Linked DNA regions of Homo sapiens: regions 1 and 3 are each linked to region 2. Evidence: promoter capture Hi-C in human tissues and cell types (Jung and others, 2019). All regions are on one chromosome and are shown on one strand. Each heading gives the region's core, a stretch centred on a gene start or on the middle of the fragment in contact. The rest is flanking DNA. Distances are from core to core; before and after follow the strand shown.

Region 1 (3,130 bases), core at 582-3,081, 210 kb before region 2:
GGCCTGTTCTCTGTTTAGCCACTTAACATCTGGGTGAAATACAGAACCAGAAAAACCACCCCTCTGACTTCAGTACATTCATGTGTCTTCCCTTTGCCAGGTGAATTGCTTGGGATACAAAAGTGAGGAAGTCAGTCCTTAACCTTTGAGGAACTCAGAGTCTAATGTAGGACAGGTGGATATAAATACATCACAGGTGCTATAAGATTGTGATAATAATAATAGCTATTTTTTATTTGCCTTGTGACAAGCTATGTAATGTTTTCCATGAATTCCCTCAGTCTTTTCAACAGTCATAAAAGGGCTTATTCCTACTCTACAGGGTTGGAAACTGAGGCCAAACAGTGGGCAAATGAGGGAATAGTCAAGATTTGAATTTTGGCCGTGTATTTGCAGAGCCTCTGCCAGGCTGTGTAGGGAGCATCCCCTGCCTGGGTGATTTGGGAAAGCTTTCCTGGGACGGGGGGGCCTTCGGATCATGAAGGATGCATAGGAGTTTGCGCGTGGTGGACTGCACACATAGGCAAGAGGGAGCAGCACAAGCAAACTTGGTGGTGGAAGGAATCCACTGTCCTTGGGGAGGAGGGAAGAGGTTAATCATAGCTGGATCAGGTAAGGACAATGGAGAGCTACTAGAGGATTTAAAGGAGGTCAGGGACTTGGGCTGAAAGAATTTTGGAAAGATCATTTGGGGGCAATATAGGGCCAAATGCAGATGCCCCTGCAATATAGGAGGCACTGGTTGGGTCTGACAGAGGTAGAGTCACAGCCTCTTAGACCCAGAGGAAGGTGTAGAGAGAATCCTGCTCAATTTTGGGAAAAGATAATTAATGCAGATGAGAGAAAAATTCAAAAGTTCTAGCAATACAAAAGAGTATATAGAGAAAAATGTCCCTCCTACCCTGGCCCCAAGTCTCCTGTCTCCCTAACCTCCTCCCCAGAGATGGCTGAAGTTTTCAGTTTATATGGCCTTCCATAGACACTGTTGCTTTATAAATATGTGCCTGCTTATCCATACTCCTCCCACCATGGGACGTACCACTCACACCTTACTGGGTTTTTTTACTTAACATATTTAGGAAATCATTCTATTATCAACATATATAGAGAGTTATTTGTTCTTTCTGTTGACATGCTTTTACTTATTTAGTTGTATGGCTGTACTGTAACATCTTTGGGTTAAATATTTGTTTCCAGGTTCTTCTCTTACAGCAATGAATGTCCTTGTACATACTGTGTTATGTGCTCATTTGCAAAGTTATCTGAACAATATGCTTTTAGAAGTAGAATTACTGGGTCAAGGGATATGTCTGCATTTTTGATTTGCAGACATGGAGCCAAACTGCCACCCGTTTCTGGGGGGTTGTACCAATTTATCCTCTCCCCCAAAGTGTATAGCTGGATAGATGATCTTTGGAGAATTCAGGAGGATCAACTACGATGCTTTTTCAGCTATTATATGCCTACTTTTCCTCCACAAATCCTCCCCCACCCTATGCGATTCTAGCCAGTTTCTTTGAATTTACAGAGGGAGATGTTGAGGCTCAGAAGGATAAAAGTAACTTGTGCAGGATGATCAGTGCGGGTGGTGGTGGGTGTTTTGTTTTGTATTTTTGCACCCCTCATGTTTGTATTTGCCAGCACCTTTCATTGGAGGTGCTCAGTGTCAGTTTGTAAACATTATTGCATTATTTTTCTCCATTTTCACATGGAAAAAAATGAGATGCAGGGGAAGTTTGAGTTATGAGAGGGAAACTGGCCAAATATAGAATCTTGTCATTTTACTTCCAGTGCAATAATAAATGTTTCCAAATGACAAAGCTGAAGAGATGTTTTTTGTTTGTTTGTTTGTTTGTTTGTTTTTTGAGATGGAGTTTTGCTCTTGTTGCCCAGGCTGGAATGCAATGGCGCTATCTTGGCTCACGCAACTTTTGCCTCCTGGGTTCAAGCGATTCTCCTGCCTCAGCCTCCCGAGTAGCTGGGATTACAGGCATGTGTCACTGTACCTGGCTAATTTTGTATTTTTAGTAAAGACGGGGTTTCTCCATGTTGGTAAGGCTGGTCTTGAACTCCTGACCTCAGGTGATCCGCTGGTCTTGGCCTCCCAAAGTCCTGGGATTACAAGCATGAGCCACCGTGCCCGGTGAAGAAATGGTTTTTTAGTGAGTCTGAGTACAACAAAAATAGCAATAATATAACACTAACTTAATAAAACTGAACAGCAGGCCCAAAAATAGCCCAACATTAAAATTTATTTTAATGTATTCTCTATGGAAAAGAGAATCCATTAAATGTAAAACTATTTATTTTACTCTAAATTCACATCCATTTGTGTCAGTGTACAAGACATAATTTTTATAGTAGCAGTCAGTACATATAGAATATGATTTTTGAATTCTTCAATAGCATAAAATATTTTATATTTACTCATTTAAGTATTTGTTCATTTAAAATCACAGGCTGGGTGCGGTGGCTCACGCCTGTAATCCCAGCACTTTGGGAGGCTGAGGCAGGTGGATCATGAGGTCAAGAGATCAAGACCATCCTGGCCAACATGGTGAAACCCCATCTCTACTAAAAATACAAAAATTAGCTGGGTGTGGTGGCGCGTGCCTGTAATCCCAGCTACTCGGGAGGCTGAGGCATGAGAATCACTTGAACCCAGGAGGCGGAAGTTGCAGTGAGCCAAGATCTTGCCACTGTACTCCAGCCTGGCGACAGAGCGAGACTCCGTCTCAAAAAAAAGAAAAAAAAAATCACAGTATAGTATTCCATGCATCGACAGCTGTAGTTTTTTTTAAATTTGTTTTTGTTTTTTTGAGACAGGGTCTCACTCTGCCACCCTGGCTGGAGTGCAGTGGCATGATCACAGCTCACTGCAGCCTTGACCTCCTGGGCTAAATGATCTTCCCATCTCAGCCACCTGAATAGCTGGGACTGCACAGGTCTGTGCCACCACGACCAGCTAATTTTTTTATTTTTTGTAGAGACATTTTTATGTTGCCCAGGCTAGTCTTGAACTCCTGGACTCAAGTGATCCACCCGCCTTGGCCTCCCAAAGTGCTGGGATTACAGGTGTGAGCCACCACTCTCAGCCAACAGCTGTAGTTGGTGCAATCCTTTTTATTCT
Region 2 (2,870 bases), core at 20-2,519:
GCGTGGGGAACCCTTCCTCGAGCCTCGGGGTCATCGCTGGTGGGCGCCACTGTTGCAGCTGCCCCACCCTCCACCACTCCAGACCCTTCCTCCTTCCTCCTCGCCCTGCTGCGGCTTGAGCCCGGGCCCACCCCCTTCCCCACTACACCATGCGGAGAGGCCCTACCCATCCAGAACCCCGGCCCTTCCCATTTCCTGTCTCCTCTCTTGCCTTGCCCCTGGCCCCCGCCAAGCTTGTCGGCCTCAGCTGGAGCCCTGACCCCTGCTCAGCCACCTATGACCTATCAGGTGGGTGGCAGGGGCCTGAGACCTAGAGGCGAGCACGGACACCCAGGTGCCTCAGGACCCTAAAGGAGCCTAGCAGGAGGAAGAGAGGCTGCGGGGGTTGCCGAGCGGCCACTCTCATCTGCTCAACAGCCGGTTCTCTGGCGCAATGGATAGCGCATTAGACTTTTAGCTGAGCCTGGTGTGGTCTAATTTGCTCAAGGGCTCATCATTGAGCCTGGACAGAATTGCATGCACATCGTGATTGGATTTCCTTCAGCTCTGCTGGAAATGGAGGAAACGTCCAGCACTATAGAATTAGGCCAGGTTCCCAGCAGAACTTCCCCACAGGATGCCCCACTCAAGCGCGCTCAGACCAGTGGCCATCTTCTGTGTGGGGGCCTGGGCGCCTGTGGCTGGGAGGCTGGGGCTGGATGAGGAAAGCCTCCAATGCTAGGTAGGATGGAGCCTCTGCTGCCCCAGCCAGTCCAGATGCAAGAACGCCATGGGCACAGGGGAGGCCATGATGCCCCGTTCTCCCTATCCAGCCCCAAGCCCAGTCACCGGGGAAGCATCCCTCATTTCCCTGCATCCCTGTCTGGATGGCGACAGTGACCAGGAGCGCCTTCAGCCTCTCCCAGCCTCCTCCAAAGCCTGGTCCCCTCTGGCCCACCCCATTGGCTCCTCTGCCCAGCCATGCCATGCCTCCCTCTTCCTCCCCCGAACTTCCCCTAAAGGCTACCACCACCCATGACTTCCCTCTTTCCTAGCCCCTGACCCAGGGTGTCAGCACTGCCCGCTATGGCAGCCCTGAGATGGCCCACAGTGGGAAGTACCTGTCTCAGCTCCAGGTCGGACATGGCCCTCTTGCCGCCCCTCGGGCAGTTCTGGAAGTAGCACGCGGAGGAGAAGGCCAGTAGGCCGAGGAAGCAGGCGGGCAGCATGGTGTCAGGCATCCTGGTGCACACAGGTGGACCCCGTATGCAGCACTGCTTGGTGGCTCTGTGCTGCTGCCTCTGCTGGCTGCCTATTTATGTCCGCAGGTGTTCCCGTGGAGGCGAGACGCGGCCGCCACCCCCTCCCCAGTGGCTCCCCAGGAGCCCACGGCCGCCAGGTCCCCAGCCGTCAGCAGTGATTCAGGCATCTGGGGACACACGTGGGCCTGTCTGTGCAGGGGATCATAGGGGAGGGGTACGGGCCGCCAGGCTGTCATGGGCCGCGGAATGACAGCAATTGCCTCTACTGTGACTGCAGCGCTCTGGATTCAGGGAGAGGGACAGACTGGGGGGTCACCTGGAGACCATCTCTGAGCTTTCTGATTACCCAGAAATGGCGTAGGGTCCAAGAAGAGGGTAAGAGGAACCGAGGGGCTGCGTGTTAGGGGCAGGGACAGGCCCTGGCCTAGGAGCTGTGGGGCAGGGGACAGCCAGGTGTGTGGGGAGGGTTAGCCCTGTGACAACAAGATAAGGGACCAAGAACAGCACAAGCCCAGAGTGGTGAGGACAGGGGCTGCACCAGAGATGAGAATCCCTGCCTCGTGGACAAGGCAGCCGCCGTCGTGGAGTCAAGGGACACAGAATGAGAGGGGCTTGTTCTCACAGGGTAGGGGGGTGGCAGGTTGCTGGGGAAAGTGCAAGACATGACACCCCCGCACCCCCATAGAGCAGGGCATGGGGACTCAGGCCCTGAAACTGGGGGCCTTGGGGACACATTGGCACATGACCCGTCACCCCCTCCCAGGTAGAAACATGAGTGTGGAGAGCTACTATGGGGAGAAAGAACTCCATGCCAAGTAAGGTTCAAAGGCGGGGGGAGCCCCAGGAAACCTGACAACAGTTTGTCCCAATTCCTACCCCCACCAGGACCTTAGTATGTGGCAACCAGGGCAGGTACATCTCAGGCCTGGGGTGGGAGAGCCGGGGGTGGGGGGTGTCTGGGCCTGGGGGAAGGTGCAGGAGGAGCCATACCTAAATGGACCCAGCCTGAGAAAGCCACTTTTGGTCCCTAATCCCAAGGTGGCAGGTCTAAAGAGGACATGGCCTCTCTCCCTGGGCCACCAGAATGCCCCGCTGGTCTGGGGTTCAGGCCCGGTACCCCCTGCCTCTCAAGCTGTGCGCAGTCCCCAGCTCTCGCAGTTCCCACAGGCTCTTGGCCTCCTCTCCAGGGTGCATAGAGGTGCTGCGAGGAAATTCCAGGGGACACAGCAGCCCCATCTCCAGCAAGGGCAGTGAGGGGGCCAGCAACCCAGGAGGGGCCTCCTATACTCAGGCCATGGCGTCGGTCTTTTCAGGAATGACCCCTCAGGGACTGCAAGGACCCTTTGAGAGGCAACACTGGGCAGTTGTTATTGCAGGAACACTGGCTCCCAATAGCTTGGCTCAGGGTCTGGCCTCTGTTGCTCGACACTTCATGGCTTGGGCAGCTCACTGGACTTCTCTGTGCCTTACTTTCTGCCAGTGTGAAGTAAGGAAAATCATGGTACCCACCTCCTAGGGTCAATGTGAGGACAGAAATAAATAATTTATTATACAAAAGCTTTAGAGCCAGGCATGGCAGCTTATGCCTGTAATCCCAGCTACTTGGGAGACCCAGACAGGAGGTTGAGA
Region 3 (3,290 bases), core at 125-2,624, 220 kb after region 2:
CAATAACCCTTCTGGTATCTGCTCTGGACTCTTGACTGTCAGACAGTGGTCTGAGGGCCATACCTTTGCAGGGGTTCACAGGGGCCAGGGCAGCCAACTCCTGAGGAGATCTCCCTGACTCTTTGTGCCATCCTTGGTGTCCTTAGTGGATGAACTCTGTCCTTCCTTCTCCATTCTGTAAGTCTGAAAACCCAGGATAAGAGGAAGTTTCCCATTATTGTCCCAAAACCAGGAGGACTGCAGTTTGGTTGTCTTTGATTGAGCTCTGTATCCCTGGAAGTCCAACAAAAGAGGGATGGGCCCTCAGGGTAAACCAAAATACCAAGCAAATGCCAAAGAAGAATTTCGCTTTCCTCTTTCAGAAAACTGGCTGTACAAATAAAAATCTTCCAACAGCCCAGTCTATGTGAGGAGGGAACATTTATCACTGCTGGGGAAATTTATGATGCAATGGCTAGATGATTTTCATCCTGTGTCTATAAATGTGTGTGAAATGTACACACAAGGTTTAAAAAAAAAAAAAAAAAAAAACTAAAGCAACAACTACAAAACCCAGATGTCTATGAACTCACCACTGGGCCTAAGAAATTGAGCATTACTAGCACCGTTGAAACCCCCTGGATGTCCTTCCTCAATGAGAGCCCTTCTCTTCCACCCAGGGGGAACAGCATCCTGAATTCTGGATGGTTTTACCACACTTGAATGTATTTGTAAACTGTGTATTACTTAGTTTTGTCTGTGTTTTTATATAAATGAAATCCTAATCATGTATTCTTCTGTGACTTGCTTACTTCTCCTGACATTCTGTTCCTGAATGTGACCTATGTTACAAGTAATATGCAGCTATACAGTTCCTTCATGCTCAGTGCTGTACAAAACTTTACTTTTTTTTTTTTTTTTTTTGAGATGGAGTCTCACTCTGTTGCCTTGGCTGGAGTGCAGTGGTGCCATCTCTGCTCACTGCAATCTCCGCCTCCCAGGTTCAAGTGATTCTTGTGCCTCAGCCTCCCAAGTAGCTGGGATTACAGGCATGCGCCACCACGGTCCAGCTAATTTTTGTATTTTTAGTAGAGATGGGGTTTCACCACGCTGGCCAGGCTAGTCTCGAACTCCTGACCTCAGGTGACCTGCCCGCCTCGGCCTTCCAAAGTGCTGGGATTACAGGTGTGAGCCACCGTGCCAGACCAAAACCTTCATTTTTAAAGTGTCCCTCCAGCCAGGTGCGGTGGCTCCCTCCAGCCAGGTACAGTGGCTCACGCCTGTAATCCCAGCACTTTGGGAGACTGAGGTGGGAGCTTCACGTGAGGCCTGGAGTTTGAGACCAGCCTAGCCAACATGGTGAAACTCCATCTCTACTAAAAAAAAAAAAAAATTAGCCAGGTGTGGTGCCACATGCCCACATGACTCCTCCTCCATGCATACATGGTAGGGGCTAAGCTCTCTGGTAGCTCTTATAAGGGCACCACATCCCAACAGACCTTGTCCCACATTCATGACCTCATCTAACCCCTATTTCCTTCCAAAAGCCCCATCTCCAGATAACATCACTTTTGGGGTTAAGGCTTCAACACTGGAATTTTGGAGAGGACACAAACATTCAGTCTCTAATGTGATAAGGCAAGTTCCCACCTTGTTTTTCTTCTTCAGGAGTATCTTGGCTGTTCTTAGCACTTTGCTCAAAGTTATTGACATTTTTATGTTGGCTTTTCAGGATTTTCAAAAAACTTGTTGGTTTTTTTTTTCCTGAAATTATGTTAAATTTAAAGATCACTTTGGAGAGAATTGTCATTTTTACCATGTCAAGTAAGTAAACCTGAGTTTTCCAGTCCATGAATGGGATGTGTGTTTATGTCATTTTTAATGCCTTTTAGTATAGTGTTATAATTTTCTCAGCCTCCAGACTGTGAGAAATAAATTCCTACTGTTAATCCACTCACTCTGTGGTATTTTGTTATGGCATCCCAAGCAGACTAAGTCACCATATAGAAATATGTTATCTATCTAAAATAAGACAATGTGTTATTTTCTTTCCCAATGGAACAGAACAGAGAGCCTATTAATAGATGCACACATAAAGAGACTTGATTTATAACAAAGCTGGCACTGCCGATCAGTGGGAAAACAATGATTTTTCAATAACTTTGCTGAGACAGGTGGCTACCTACATTTAAAAAATGAACTTAGACTTCTATCTCATATCACTTTCACAGAGCAATCCAGGTGGATTCTTTGAAAAATTATATTTTTATAATTCAACAGAAAAGTCTCAATAGATCTAAAATATATGAATCACATAGGAAATGATTAATTATCCTGATTACATTAAAACTAAGAACTTTTATTCATGAAAAAGCATCAGAAATAAAATAAAAAGACAAGCCACCAGGTGAAAGAAAATATTTGCAATATACTGAATTGACAAAGAATTAGTATCCAAAATCTATAAAGAATTCCTGGCTGGGCGCAGTGGCTCACGTGTAATCCCAGAACTTTGGGAGGCTGTGGCAGGCAGATCACCTGAAGTCGGGAGATTGAGACCAGCCTGACCGACATAGAGAAACCCTACCTCTACTAAAAACACAAAATTAGCCGGGCATGGTGGTGCATGTCTGTAATCCCAGCTACTCGGGAGGCTGAGGCAGGGGAATCGCTTAAACCTGGGAGGCAGAGGTTGCAGTGAGCCAAGATCGTGCCATTGCACTCTAGCCCAGGCAACAAGAGTGAAACTCCATCAAGAAAGAAAAGAAAGATGAACAAACGAACTAATGATCGAGAGAAAGAGAGAGAAACAGAGAGAGAGAGAGAGAAAGAAAGAGAAAGAAAGGAAAGAAAGAAAAGAAAAAAGAAAAGGAAAGAAAGAAAGGAAAGAGAAAGAAAAAGAAAGAAAGAAAGAAAGAAAGAAAGAAAGAAAGAAAGAAAGAAAGAAAGAAAGAATTCCTAAAATAGGCCAGGCGCAGTGGGTCACGCCTGTAATCCCAGCACTTTGAGAGGCCGAGGTGGGCAGATGACCTGAGGTCAGGAGTTCAAGACCAGCTTGGCCAACATGGCGAAACCCCGTCTCTATTAAAAATACAAAAATTAGCTGGGCCTGATGGTGCACGCCTGTAGTCCCAGCTACTCGGGAGGCTGAGGCATGAGAATTGCTTGAACCTGGGAGGTAGAGGCTGCAGTGAGCTGAGATTGCGCCACTGCACTCCAGCCTGGACAACAGAGTGAGACTTAGTCTCAAGAAAAAAAAAAAAATTCCTAAAATAAACAAGAAAAAGGCAATCTAAAAGAAACATGAGCAA

What was found. Contacts are between HindIII fragments. The study calls those that stand out against the background at their distance.
Region 1: a contact is called between a fragment that was not itself captured here and the fragment with the promoter of AVP in region 2, in 1 of the 25 tissues and cell types used here (mesenchymal stem cells).
Region 3: a fragment that was not itself captured here is called in contact with the fragment with the promoter of AVP in region 2 in 1 of the 25 tissues and cell types used here (H1 embryonic stem cells).

Annotation. Positions count from the first base shown.
Region 1 is chr20:2,875,413-2,878,542 of GRCh38, forward strand. The region is part of intron 1 of PTPRA (protein tyrosine phosphatase receptor type A); the gene reads left to right. Among named protein-coding and RNA genes, the nearest start is that of PTPRA, 3.5 kb to the left of the region's middle. The HindIII fragment of the contact is 3,612 bases long and covers 26-3,130 here.
Region 2 is chr20:3,083,455-3,086,324 of GRCh38, forward strand. It overlaps AVP (arginine vasopressin), which reads right to left and starts at 1,270. Exons shown (of 3, transcript NM_000490.5): 1 at 1,101-1,270. The coding sequence starts at 1,220. The HindIII fragment of the contact is 11,932 bases long and covers 1-1,516 here.
Region 3 is chr20:3,307,458-3,310,747 of GRCh38, forward strand. The region is part of intron 20 of DNAAF9 (dynein axonemal assembly factor 9); the gene reads right to left. Among named protein-coding and RNA genes, the nearest start is that of SLC4A11, 70 kb to the left of the region's middle. The HindIII fragment of the contact is 8,715 bases long and covers 1-3,290 here.